3 separate regions of the Homo sapiens genome follow, and all the other regions are linked to region 1. Evidence: promoter capture Hi-C in 16 types of primary human blood cells and fetal thymus (Javierre and others, 2016). All regions are on one chromosome and are shown on one strand. Each heading gives the region's core, a stretch centred on a gene start or on the middle of the fragment in contact. The rest is flanking DNA. Distances are from core to core; before and after follow the strand shown.

The links. The method cuts DNA at HindIII sites, captures the fragments that hold promoters and counts their contacts. A CHiCAGO score of 5 or more calls a contact.
Region 2: a contact is called between a fragment that was not itself captured here and the fragment with the promoter of DOCK5 in region 1, in 1 of 17 cell types (fetal thymus). The highest score is 5.9, in fetal thymus.
Region 3: a contact is called between a fragment that was not itself captured here and the fragment with the promoter of DOCK5 in region 1, in 5 of 17 cell types (total CD4 T cells, naive CD4 T cells, naive B cells and 2 more). The highest score is 7.9, in total CD4 T cells.

The regions. Positions count from the first base shown.
Region 1 is chr8:25,183,367-25,187,694 of GRCh38, reverse strand. It overlaps DOCK5 (dedicator of cytokinesis 5), which reads right to left and starts at 3,006. Exons shown (of 52, transcript NM_024940.8): 1 at 2,744-3,006. The coding sequence starts at 2,786. It overlaps LOC124901912 (a long non-coding RNA gene), which reads left to right and starts at 3,318. Exons shown (of 2, transcript XR_007060861.1): 1 at 3,318-4,328. RefSeq lists silencers at 2,709-2,758, 2,929-3,098, 3,109-3,188. The HindIII fragment of the contact is 10,671 bases long and covers 1-4,328 here.
Region 2 is chr8:26,054,210-26,058,257 of GRCh38, reverse strand. No RefSeq gene overlaps it. Among named protein-coding and RNA genes, the nearest start is that of EBF2, 11 kb to the right of the region's middle. The HindIII fragment of the contact is 4,348 bases long and covers 437-4,048 here.
Region 3 is chr8:26,098,277-26,102,907 of GRCh38, reverse strand. No RefSeq gene overlaps it. Among named protein-coding and RNA genes, the nearest start is that of EBF2, 55 kb to the right of the region's middle. The HindIII fragment of the contact is 153 bases long and covers 1,230-1,382 here.

The DNA.
Region 1 (4,328 bases), core at 1,757-4,256:
GATAGGCTGAACCAGATTATAGGAACCTTGGAACGGAGGCTCAGACTTTATCCTGTTGACCACGAGAGACTTCCAAGCAGGGAGGTGACATAAACATAAGCAAGGAGGTGACAAAAACAATGAGTTTTAGCAATAAGCAATGGAGATTTCTCTCTTCAGTTAATTTATCCCAACTGTGGGTCCTTTTGTCAAACCCAGACAAACCAGAATCTATGTCTGGTGAAATAAGTGTTCAGAATTATATCCTGGAGCAGTTTCCCTAACACCTAGGCCCTGGAAATGCAATCCAAATATTTTACACACACACACACACACACACACACACACACAATTTCCACCCATATTTCCATATACATATATATATACACACACACACATATACGCATATATACATATATATGTATATACATATATACATATATGTGTGTGTATACGTGTGTGTGTGTGTGTATATATATATATACGTATATATATGTATATATAGTTTTTTTTTTGAGATCGGGTCTCACAGTATCACCCAGGCTGGAGTGCAGTGTCGTGATGGGGGCTCGGTGCACCCTCAACCTCCCAGGCTCAAGCTATCCTCCCACCTCAGCCTCCTCAGTAGCTAGAACCACAGGCACAGGCGACCATGCCCGGCTAAATTTTTTTCGTATTTATTGTAAAGACCCGTTTGCCATGTTGCTATGCTAGTTTTGAACTCCTGGGCTCAAGCAATCCTCCTGCCTCTGCCACCCAAATTGTTGGGATTACAGACGTGAGCCATCGCACCTGGCCCAAATATTTTTCTTGACTGATAAGTGACACAGTAAACTGACTCCAGAACATAAAAACAAAATATTAAAAACAATTATACTTGCTCCTAGGACTATGGCAATAAAAACCACATTTTTGAAACATGTTTGCATTAATTACCCTCAACTGAATAGTTTTGAAAAGAGCTTTTAATCCTGATAAAATTAGAGTTGATAACATTTCTGTAGTGATTGGGCATTGTAAATATGCTTTCATCTAGGGGCCAGGTGAGGTGGCTCATGACTGTAATCCCAACACTTTGGGAGGCCGAGGCAGGCGGATCACCTGAGGTCAGGAGTTTGAGACCAGCCTGGCCCAGATGGCGAAACCTGGTTTCTACTAAAAATACAAAAATTAGTCAGGTGTAGTGATGCAAGCCCGTAATCCCAGCTACTCGGGGAGGGGGGCTGAGACAGGAGAATTGCTGGAACCTAGAGGTGGAGCTTGCAGTGAGCCGAGATTGCGCCACTGCACTCCGGCCTGGGCGACAGAGTGAGACTCCCTCGTCAGTCCGTCTCAAAAACAAACAAACCAAAAAAAAAAAAAAAAAGAGCCCTGAGGCAGAAGCAACATCTCTACCCATTTCTGAGATGCAGCTAAGGGAGAGACTAAGATTCTAAAAGCAACTTAAGAGCAAAAAAGAAAATGTCTTTTGAATTGAGGGAAAACAAAAAATAATAAATATATAAAGGATCACAACCTAAGAATAATATAGTAAATATGAGACTGTTAAAAAACAAAACAAACAACAACAAAAAACCCTGACTCCTGGCTACAGAGTTGAAAAGCCCCTAGACACGTTGAGTAGCTCTTAATTGAGACTGCACTTCATTAACCAGTGAGGTGAGGAAAAACAGGACCTCAGTAAGGGAGTAAAGTCAAAGACTAAATTACAAACAGGCCAAATGAATGGATCTGAGAGGAAGTGATAAAATTCGCAACACACTCAGCCGTGTTTATTGTAGGGAATCACCCCAGGTCTAACTGCCATTGTAATCACCCCGTTCAGGGCAGAAGTCTTCCCACAGGCCCTCAATAACTTCAATCCTTGATAAAAAGCCAAAGGAGCCTGACTTTCCACCTGGGTCAAAATCCCCGCACATCTATTGTTTCGGAGCCAAAGCACCACCACCAGCAACCCCTGCGCACAACCCGGGGCTCTCCAGCACCGCTGTTCTGAATGCCAAGTGCCCAGCACGGGGTCTGGCACAGTTTCCTTAATAAAATGTCCTCTTCTCGTCTCCAGGATGAAACTCAGGATCCGGAAGGCAGCCTTACACCCTCTCCAGACAGGCTCCGTTAGGGGATGAGTGCGCACAAACAGCCCCAGGGGCCAGCCACCCCCTTCCCGTGCCACAACTTCCTGTCCCTTCCATCACTTCCACGCCACGACTCTAGTTTCCATCCAGCTCACAACTGTCATCAAGATCCCAGTCTCTGGAGGAAAGGGGGCAGGGCGGCTTTCCACCCTCAACTCCTCACTTAAGGGGCGTCTGAGAAGAACCTACGAAAGCGGGGGGCAGAAAGCACTGGGACAATGAGCACCAGTCCATGTGCCGACCCGGGCTGGTCACCTACTCCCAGGTGAAACCCACGCTGGGCGCACCGGGGCGAGCCACAGAGCTGCGGCCCCAAAAGAGCAGCAGGCGCGCCCCCCTCGCGTTGACATTTCCCTGGTGTGAAGTGCCGGAGATTGGGATGCAAGAGCGGGATTACGGTCCCGAAGCTCAGCTGCACTTGGAAGCACTCGGAGTCCCCAAACCCTGGGCGACTTCCCCATCGGCGCTCCCTGGAGAGGACTCCTACCGTCCCCGGCTCCCAGAGCTGCGCAGCCGGGCCGAGCCCCCGGCCAGGGTCCTCCGCCGGGCTCTGCGCAAACCTGGCAGGGCCGCTGTCCGCGAACTTGGCCGCGTGGGTCGGGCCGGGACAAGGTGGGGCGCGCACTCACCAACCCCGTACTTCTGCCTCTTGGTCGGGATCCAGCGGGCCATGGCGGCGACCTCGCCCCGCGGCGGCGGCGACTAAGGCTGCTACAGCTCCTCGGGCTCCGGCCGCCGCCGCCCCGCGCTCCTGCGTGCCCCAGACGCTTCCGCCATGTTCCGCCAAACTTCGCTGGACTCCGCGGGCCGCCTCCTCGCCGCGCCGCCCGCGCCCGTGCCCGTGCCCGCGCCGCCCGCGGTCACCTGCTGGGCCGGGCTGCAGCGCAGCAGTGCGCGCCCCTCCTGGCGCCGCCCCAGTCCCTCCCGCCGGCCGCACCCTCCGCCCGCCGGGGCCGCCTCCGAGCCGCGGGCGCCCGGCCTCTCCCGCCCGCGCCGCTCTCTGCGCTCTGCCGGGCGGGGGCCGACTGCGGCTCCGCCTCGCGCGCTTCCCTGGAGCGGCTTCCTGGGCCGGCGGGACTTTGACGCTGGCGGCACTTTGCCTTTCTCCCGCCCTCCCCACCCGGCTGATACCCCGGAGGCTGGGTCCCGGGGGTCCGGCTCCCGACAGAGGGCTGCGCTGGAGGAGCCGGGCACGCCCAGGCCGGGCGGCCGGTGGGCGAGGGATGCGGGCTGCGCTCCCACGGCGCGCGCCGGACACTTGGGGAGCGGAAACGGATCAGCGAGAGCGGCTTCTTGCTCGGGGCACCTCCGGTGCCTGGCACTAAGCGGGCGCGCAATAAATATTTGTTGAATGAATGAGCAGTTGACTTCTGCCTTCACCCCCTGGAGCTTGAACCCGCGCCGCGAGCGGGAGAAGCCGGACTCAGGGCAGACTGAATCTCCCGGGGCCACCGCTTAGAGCCTGGAAAGCAGAACTTTTATCACCGGAGAGCTGGTGCAAGGGAGGTGGGCTCCTCAGAAGTATCAGACCGTTTGCTAGGGGATCCTCTGCAGGGAAATTGTTTAGAAAGCCCTAATTTGGAAGTCCTGTATCCCCAAACTCCGGGGACCCCCCAACCTTAAGCTGAAGAAACTTAGACCCTCATGCCCAGACCTCCCTTTCCCAACCAGCCAGCAGCCCAGAGAGCATTCCCGTGGAGAAAGGGCCAAGGCGCATCCCCGTCTTTTCTCCGTCAACGACTGCCTTTTCTTGACGAAGATCCCAAAGGGGCTGCGCATTTGAACCGCCTTGGGCTCCAGGTGGCGCCCTCTCTGGAGCTCCCCTCTTGGAATTCATTTCTTCCTGGAGAGACTTGGAGAATGAAGATCCAGGGGTTTCTCCCTACCTTGTACCGAGAAGTAACATTGCAAGTAGAGTAAATGACCAGCTTAATTACGTTCACCTTCGAAGAAGATTCCTCTAGAGAGAAATTATATCCTCCTTGCAGCCTGTGAAGGTTTTCATGCGTTTTAGGAATATAAAAGAAAGGAAGACAAACATGTAGTAAAGATAGTAAAGACAGGTAGTTGGCCAGGCGTGGTGGCTCATGCCTGTAATCTCAGCACTTTGGGAGGCCGAGGCGGGTGGATCACCTGAGGTCACGAGTTCCAGACCAGCCTGGCCAACATGGTGAAACCCCTTCTCTACTAAAATACAAAAGTTAGCCAGACGTG
Region 2 (4,048 bases), core at 1,361-3,860, 870 kb before region 1:
TATGAACCATTGTAGAACTACTGGGAAAATAACACTTTAAACAACTTAAATTGTCATTTCAATGAGAGTAAAAATACTGGGAATTAACACTTAAAGATTCTAAACAATTCTTGGGAAGTTTTACCAAACAGAACTGTAATGGAGGCAGTGATATTGTTGTAAAAAATGATAATATCCACATGTCATGTCCAAGAAACTTCTCAAATACTGAGAAATATAATTTTTAAAAGCCCATTATTGCTGGAAACTAGACAGAGGTGCTATTCTCATATAATAAACTTTAAGGAATTTCTCTAAGACATATTACAGGCGTGAGTGGATGGAGGGGAAGGTTCATCCATACAGTCTTCAGTTCTATCTAGAAGAGCTGAAGACTATGTAGGCTGTTGTTAAAGTACCCTTTCTGAAAAAATTCTTACAGGCTCATGTCAAAGCTTTATTTCAGATTTGCCCTGGGGAAAGAAGGTCCTGAGCCAGCCATTGCAGATTTTTTTCTTTGAAGAAGAGGTTGTAGAAAAATACAATAAGGCAGTGCCAGTTAATGTTATCAGACTCTTCTCAAGACTGATAGCTTCTCAGAAGATGCTCTTGAGCTCAATAAAGTCTACCAAAAAATCACACAAGGATGCTAATTATTTCCCAGAAGGAATTATAAATTATATCACATACATAAAGAAAATTGTGTCCCAGACCATATTTGGGACAATTTTCTTTCTTGCCATGCTACAAGGCATTTGGTGGTATAATAGTTCAGTTATAGCTCATTTAATGGAGAAAACAGAATCTGGACCACTATTTTAGACAATGTCACAAGTTAATCTCATATGCATGGGATTAAACATGTGGATGTAAAAGACGAAATTAGAAGTGTTGGATTTTTTTGTGTAATTTTGAGGTGTAGAAAGACTTCTTAAGTAGGACTCCAAAGCACAAAAGTGGACGGAATTGACCAGATAAAAATAAAGCATTGCTAATCAGCAGAGGACAACACTGACCAAGTTATAGACAAATGACAGATTAAGAGATAATATCTGTAACATCTAAAACTGACAATTAACATCTAAACATATAAAATCCTTCCGCCAATCATCAACATCAACAGCAGCAGAAGCAGCAGCAACAACCATCTCCAAGGCTGAAAATCCAGTGGAAAAATGCTATCAATAAGTGGTTAATTGGTGGGGGATCCAAATGGTTAAAAAACGTTTGAAGAGATGCTCAACTTCACCAGCAAGCAAAGAAATGCACATTAAAACAACAGCAAGATATATCTTTATACCCATCAGATTTGCCAAAATTACAAAGTCAGATAATACCAAGTTTCTGGTGCCCTGTTGATGGGAGTATAAATTAGAAAAGTCTGGAGGAATAAAAATAAAACAGGACATTTAGGTTGGTTCCAAGTCCATCGGGGGGTGGGTGGCTAGGGGAGGGATAACGTTAGGAGAAACACCTAATGTAGGTGGTGGGTTGATGGGTGCAGCAAACCACCATGGCACATGTATACCTATGTAACAAAACTGCACGTTTTGCACATATAACCCACAACTTAAAGTATTAAAAATAAATAAATAAAACAGGATGCAAAATGAAAATATTCAACTCTGGCAATGGGAAAAAATTGTTTCAGATACAGAAAATTAAAGTTATAGCAGAATACAAGGTACAGCTCTATGGTAATGTATTTAAAAATATTAATGATATAGATTATTTTATATGAGAATAAAAATTATCCAAATATACTCAGTAAGTGATAGAAAACCTGAATAAATCATTAACCATCAAATAAATTAGATAATTTATCAAAGCCTTTATGGGAAAGTTTTGTTAATTTTTTTTTAATAGAGAATGGGGCGGGGGGGGGCGGGGGGTTCTTGCTATGTTGACCAGGCTGGTCTCGAACTCTTGGTCTCAAGTGATCCTCCCATCTCGGCTTCCCAAAGTGCTAGGATTACAGGTGTGAGCCACTGTGCCTGGCCAAGTTCTGTTAATTTAAAGAAAATATAGATCCTATGCTATTTAAACTAAACTTGTATATTTAAAAAATCATAGAAATTATTTTTACAGAGCTTATATAACCCTGATACCAAAATCTGATGTGCTAGTTGGAGATTGGCATAAGAAATAGAAAATCTTCCAAACATCATAGAAAAAGAGATTTAAAAAAGGGGGTGTGGAGTTTGTAAAATTGTTGGAAGAGTTGGAGAGGCAAACTTCAAGCAGGGCCTTCTAAAATGATCCACAGAACACCAAAGAAGTAAATCTCCAGGACAGAAAGGCACAGAAGAGGAGGTGAGAATAAATGATGGATGTCAGGTGAGTAAATACACAACACACCTGCAAAGACAGAATTAACATGAGAAAATTGCAAATCAATCATCATCTTTTCCCTGGAGTATAAATTTCTCAGGGGTGTGGACTTGGTGTCATTTACCATGGTGTCCCTGGTAAGGTGAGTGTCTGATAAATTTGTAATGGATGCATAAATGATTAAATGACCATGTTGGGTTTACTATAGAAATTCAAAAATATGTCATTATTAGTAAATATATTAATTAATAACAATAATAGAAAGATGAGGAAAAGTCTATAATCACCCTAATAAGTGCTAACAATATATTTGATACAATTCAACATCTATTTATAATCAAAGTTCTCAGTAACCTGAGATAAATCTGTACTTTATAATATCAGACACCAATCATCAACTTAATAACACATTATAAAAATATCCATAATATTCAGACACAATATAAAGTGTATCTCTGATACTTCTACTCTTTGCCATTGTATTCTAATACAATGAAACTAAACAGGTAAACTAAACAGGTAAAATAAATCAGGTTTACTTTACTAGAAAGAAAAAGACCAAATTATCATTAAGTAGGTGATATAATTGTCTACTTGGAAAGTCTAACTGAATCAATTAAGAAACTAGGACAACTAATAAGAGCTAAGAAAGATATCTCTGTGTGTAATAAATGAACAAGTTCCCCATATTTCAGCAATAATCAGGAACTACAGTAGAAAAAAAATACAAACTACCTAGGAATAATTCAAACAAAATTTGTGGTGGACCTATATGAATAAACTACAGGCTTTTTTTTTAAATTTATTTTTATTTTTTTACTTGAGACATGCTTTCACGATGTTGTCCTGGCTGTTCTTGAACTCCTGGGCTCAAGCAATCCTCCTGCATTTGACCTCCCAAAGTGCTAGGATTACAGACATCAGCCACCAAGACCAGCCAATACTACAAGGTTTACTGCAGGACATAAAATAAACTGCATAAACTAAAAAGCATGTGGTTTTTCTAGTTTCTAAATGTCATAAATTTCCAGTTCTAATTTTAAAATCTCTCTCTCTCTCCATATATATATACACATGTATATATACGTACGTACGTATATATACGTGTATATATACGTACGTACGTATATATACGTGTATATATACGTACATGTGTATATGTATACATATATATATATACACATACCAATGTTTCACATTTTGGGAGAAATTAAGGATTATTTAATAAATGCTGTTGGTACAATTAAGAGTTTAGTGACAGAAGTTTGATTTCCACCTCTTAATATAAATGGAAATAAATTCCAGATGGACTATAGTTGATAAATAAACATCAAAATATTTTGAATAAAATGGGCGGGGTGTGGTGGCTCATGCCTGTAATCCCAGCACTTTGGGAGGCGAGCGCATCACTTGAGGCCAGGAGTTCAAGACCAGCCTGGCCAAAATGATGAAACCCAGTGTTTCTACTAAAAATAAAAAAAAATCAGCTGGGTGGTGGCACATGTCTGTAATCCCAGTCGTTCAGGAGGCTGAAGCACGAGAATTGCTTGAACCTGGGAGTTGGAGGCAGCAGTGAGCCAAGATTGGCAACAGAACAAGAACCTGTCTCAAAAAAAAAAAAAAAAAATTTTTGATATTTCAGTATCTATAGCTAATCTTCTGTTTAAATTGGCCTTCTAAAACTTAGTCTTTATTGTTGAAAAGGGAACCAAGACCATAATGAACAAATCTATTTACT
Region 3 (4,631 bases), core at 57-2,556, 920 kb before region 1:
TTGGTCATTTGCACATCTTCTTTGGAGAAACGTCTATATGAATCCTTTGCCCATTTTTGAATTGGGTTATTTTTGTGGTTTTTGTTGAGTTGTTTATATAATTTGGAAATTAATACTTTATCTGATAAAACATTTTCCCCCATTCAGTAGATTGTCTTTTTTGCTTTCTTGATAGTATCTTTTGATGCACTAAACTTCTTAACTTAATTGAAGTACAGTTTATCTATTTTTTCTTTTATTGCCTGTGCTTTTGGTGTCATATCTAAGAATCCACTGCCAAATTCAAGGTCATGATGATTTACTCTGTGTTTTCTTCTAAGAGTCTTACAGTTTTAACTCTTAATTTTAGGTCTGTGATTCATTCTGGATCATTTTTTATATATGGTGTCTAGTAAGAATCCAATTTCATTCTTTTGCATACGGATATCTAGTTTTCCCAACACCCTTTGTTCAAAAGACTGTCTTACCCCATTAAATGTTTGGACACCCTTGTTGAACATCAATAAACATATATGTGAGGGTTTATTTCTGGGCTGTTTTATTCTGTTGGTCCCTATGTCTGTCCTTGTGCCACTGTTATATAGTTTTAATTATTGTAGCTTTGTAATAATTTTTGAACAGAAAGTGTGAGCTTTCCAACTTTATCTTCTTTTTTAGGATTGTTTCGGCTATTTGAGACTCCTTGCAACTTGACTCTTTTAAATCATTAAACCAACTTTGCATTCCTGAAATAAATGTCATTTACTCATAACATATTATTCTTGTAATATATTGCTGGCCTTGTTTTTTGGATTTTTTTGCATATTTTGTTGATGATTTTGCATCTAAGTTAATGAGGGATAGGTTGTAGTTTCCTGTTGTTATGAAATCTTTGTCAGATTTTGGTATATGGGTGATACTATCCTCATTGAATGATTAGGATATATCTGCTTCTCTTCTATTTCCCAGAAAAGCCTATGAAAGATTGGCATTATTTCTTCTGTAAATGTTTAACATAATTCACCTAGGAAGCCATGCAGGCCTGGAGTTTTCTTTGTAATTTTAAAATTTTGAATTCAATTTCTTTTATATATAGGGCTATACAGATACTCTATTTCCATTTGAAACTGTTTTGGTAATTTTTATCTTTTAAGAAATTTGTTCCATTTATCTAAGTTGTCGAATTTATTAAGTTATTATCCTTTCTATATTTTTAATTTTTGTACGTGATTTATCAACTTTATTAAGCTTATAAAAGAGAATCAGTTTTGCTGTTATTGATTTTTTTCTGTACTATTCTTCTGTTTCTATTTCATTGATTTCTGCTTTTTTATATTCTATTCCTTATACTTACTTTGGGTTGAATTTGTTCTTCTTTTTTCTAGCTTCTTAAGATGGAAGCTTAGACCGTTGATCATATACCCTTTTTTTTGTCTTCCAAAATAGCATTTAAAGTTTCAAAACTCCCTTGGAGCACTGCTTTAGATGCATCCCACAAGTTTTGTGCCTTGTGATTTCATTTTCATTTAGTTTATTAACTATGCATTTGAGATTTAAAAGATATCTTCCTGTTACTGATTTTCATTTTCTTTTCTGTTGTGGTTAGAGAATATATTCAGTATGGTTTTAATCTTTAAAATTTGTTGAAACTTGTATTATAGCCCAGCATATGTTCTATCTTTGTGAATGTTTCAGGTGCACTTAAACAAAAACGTATATTCTTTTGTGGTTGGGTGAAATGTTGTATAAATGTAAATTGATTAAATTGCTACATAGTGTTTTTCAAGTCTTTTATCTCTTCAATAATTTTTCCATGAAGTTGCTCTAGTAATGACTGAAGAAAAAATAATCAACTCTTTTTCTCTAATTGTGGATTTCTTCTTTCAATCTTTTGAGGGTTTTTATGTTGTTGTTGTTTTGTTTTTTGCTTCGTTTATTTTGAAATATCTCTTTGGTGCAAACACATTTAAGATTTTTTTACAACTGAATGATAAGTAGTTCTCTTTATTAATATGAATTTTTTTCCCTCTAGTAATAGTCCTTGTTCTGAAATCTACCATGTCTCATTTTAGTGTAGCCATTCCAAGTTTCTTTTGTTTCATGTTTGTATGATATCTCCTTTATCCTTATGTGAAGGAGTATATTAATTTTTGAATGTTAAACTTCTTTATATTCCTGGGATAAACCCCACTTGGTCATGAGGTATTATCCTTTTCTTATATTTCTGTCTTCTACTTGCTAATGTCTAAAAAATCCTGGTCTGTAATTTTATTTTCGTGGAATGTATGTTGGATATTAGCCTATGATTTTCTTTGCTTTCAATGACTTTTTTTTAGGTTTTAGTATCAGTGCTATGCTGGCCTCACCAAATGTGCGGTGAAGTGTTCCCTCTGGCTGAAAAAGCTGTTAAGACTAGCATTAATTGCTTAAGTTTACCAAATTATCTGGGCCTAGAGTTTTCTTTGTAGAAAGAATTTTCATCACAAATTCAATTTCAGTGATATCAAGCCATTCTTTCTATATCTTCTTGTGTCTGTTTTGGTGAGTCATATTTTTCAAGGAATTTGTCCACTTCCTATAAGTTGTCAAATTTGTTGTCATTTAGCCATTAATAACATTTTCTTATCACTTTATTATCTCTGAAATCTTATAGTGTCCTCTCTTTTTTCATTGCTGGTAGTAACTTGTGTCTTTTTTCTAATTTTCTTACTCAATCTCGATAGAGATTTATTAATCTTATTGATATTTCAAATAACCAAATTTTGGCTTCCTTTTTTTCCTACTTTTCATTTCATTAATTTCTGCTCTTTATTATTTCCCTATTTATACTTGTTGTATTCATCTGTTCTCATGCTGCTAATAAAGACATACCCAAGACCGATTAATTTATAAAGAAAAAGAGGTTTAATGGACTCACAGTTCCAGATGTTTAGGGAGGCCTCACAATCATGGTGGAAGACAAAGGAGGAGCAAAGTCATGTCTTACATGGTGGCAGGCAAATGAGCGTGTGCAGGGGAACTGAACTTTAAAAATCCATTAAATCTCATGAGACTTATTCACTTTAAGAACAGCACAGGAAAGACCCACCCTGATGATTCAATTACCTCCCACCAGGTCCCTACCACACGTGGGGATTATGTGAGCTACAATTCAAGATGAGATTTGGGTGGGAACACAGCCAAACCATATCACTTGTTTTGCATTTAATTTGCTCTTCTAGCTTCTGAGGATGGAAACATAGCTCATTAATTTTAAACTTTTCTTGTTTTCTAATATAAGTCTTCAAATTTCCCGGGAATCAGTGCTTTAGCTATATCTCACAAGTTTTTATATGTTGTGTTTTCATTATCATTTAGTTAAAAAATTTTAAAACTTATTTCATTATCTTATTTGGTCATTGAGAATATGCTGTTTAATTTCCAATACTTAGGAGTTTTCTAGATATCTCATTGTTATTTATTCTTAATTTTAATTTCATTGTGGTCATAGAACATGTTCTGTATTTCAATCTTTTGAAACTGTTGACACTTATTTTATGGCCCAGTAAGTGTTCTATCTGAACATTCCATATGCACTTGACAAATACACATATACGTTAAGTGGTTATAAGGTATACGCTTCTATAAAAGTCAATTAAGTCAAATTGGTTGATAGTGCTGTTCAAATCTAAATCCTTACTAAACTTTTGTCTGTTGCTTCTATTACTAGGAGATTGGTATTAAAATCTCCAACTATGATTATGGATTTGTCTGTTTCTTCCTTTGGTTCTGTAAGATGTATCTTATTTTAATATTTAAGATCCGATATAGATGCATACATATTTAGGATTGTTTGTAGTCTTGATGAATAGAATCTTTCATCATTACCAAATCACCTCCCTATCCCTGACAATATTCCTTATCTTAAAGCCTACTTTGTCTTGTAACAATATAGCCTCATCATCTTTTGCTTTCTGGGTACATGTTCCTTTTTCTCTATCTTTTTACTTTTAATTTGCTGTGTGGTGGCCTCATGGAGGGCAGGATTAACTTCGCTGCTCAAAATAGGTTTGGATGTCAAGACTGATGATGCCATTCTTATCAAGAGGGTATGAAAAAATTTATTACTCACATAATGGGACTTTTTCAGGAGAGCAGGGTAGGTACAAGGGAGTCAAGAATGGCTTCAGCCAAGAGGGTGACTGGGACAAGTGAATTTGGTTTATGTTGTGGCTGGGGGTGGGCCAGTGTAGGAGACTTGTGTGGTTTGAACTTTCAGTATCAAGGGGACAGAGGAGAGCCTGTGGGCTTTCTTACTGGTTTGCCTGTATGTGGGACAAAAGGGGCAAGGGTGGGGCTTGTAAGCTGTCGGCAGCCAAACATCAAGAATGGAGTCAAGGCTGAATGTGGTGGCTCACACCTGTAATCCCAGTACTTTGAGAGGCTGAGATGGGCGGATAAGTTGAGCCCAGGATTTTGAGACCAGCCTGGGCAACATGGAGAAACCCCACCTCTACAACAAAATACAAAAATTAGCCAGGCATGGTGGTGTGCACCTGTAGTCCCAGCTACTCAGAAGGCAGAGGTGGGAGGATTGATTGAGCCCAGGAGGTCGAGGTTGCAGTGAGACGTATGTGACCATGCCACTGCACTCCAGCCTGGGTGAGACAGTG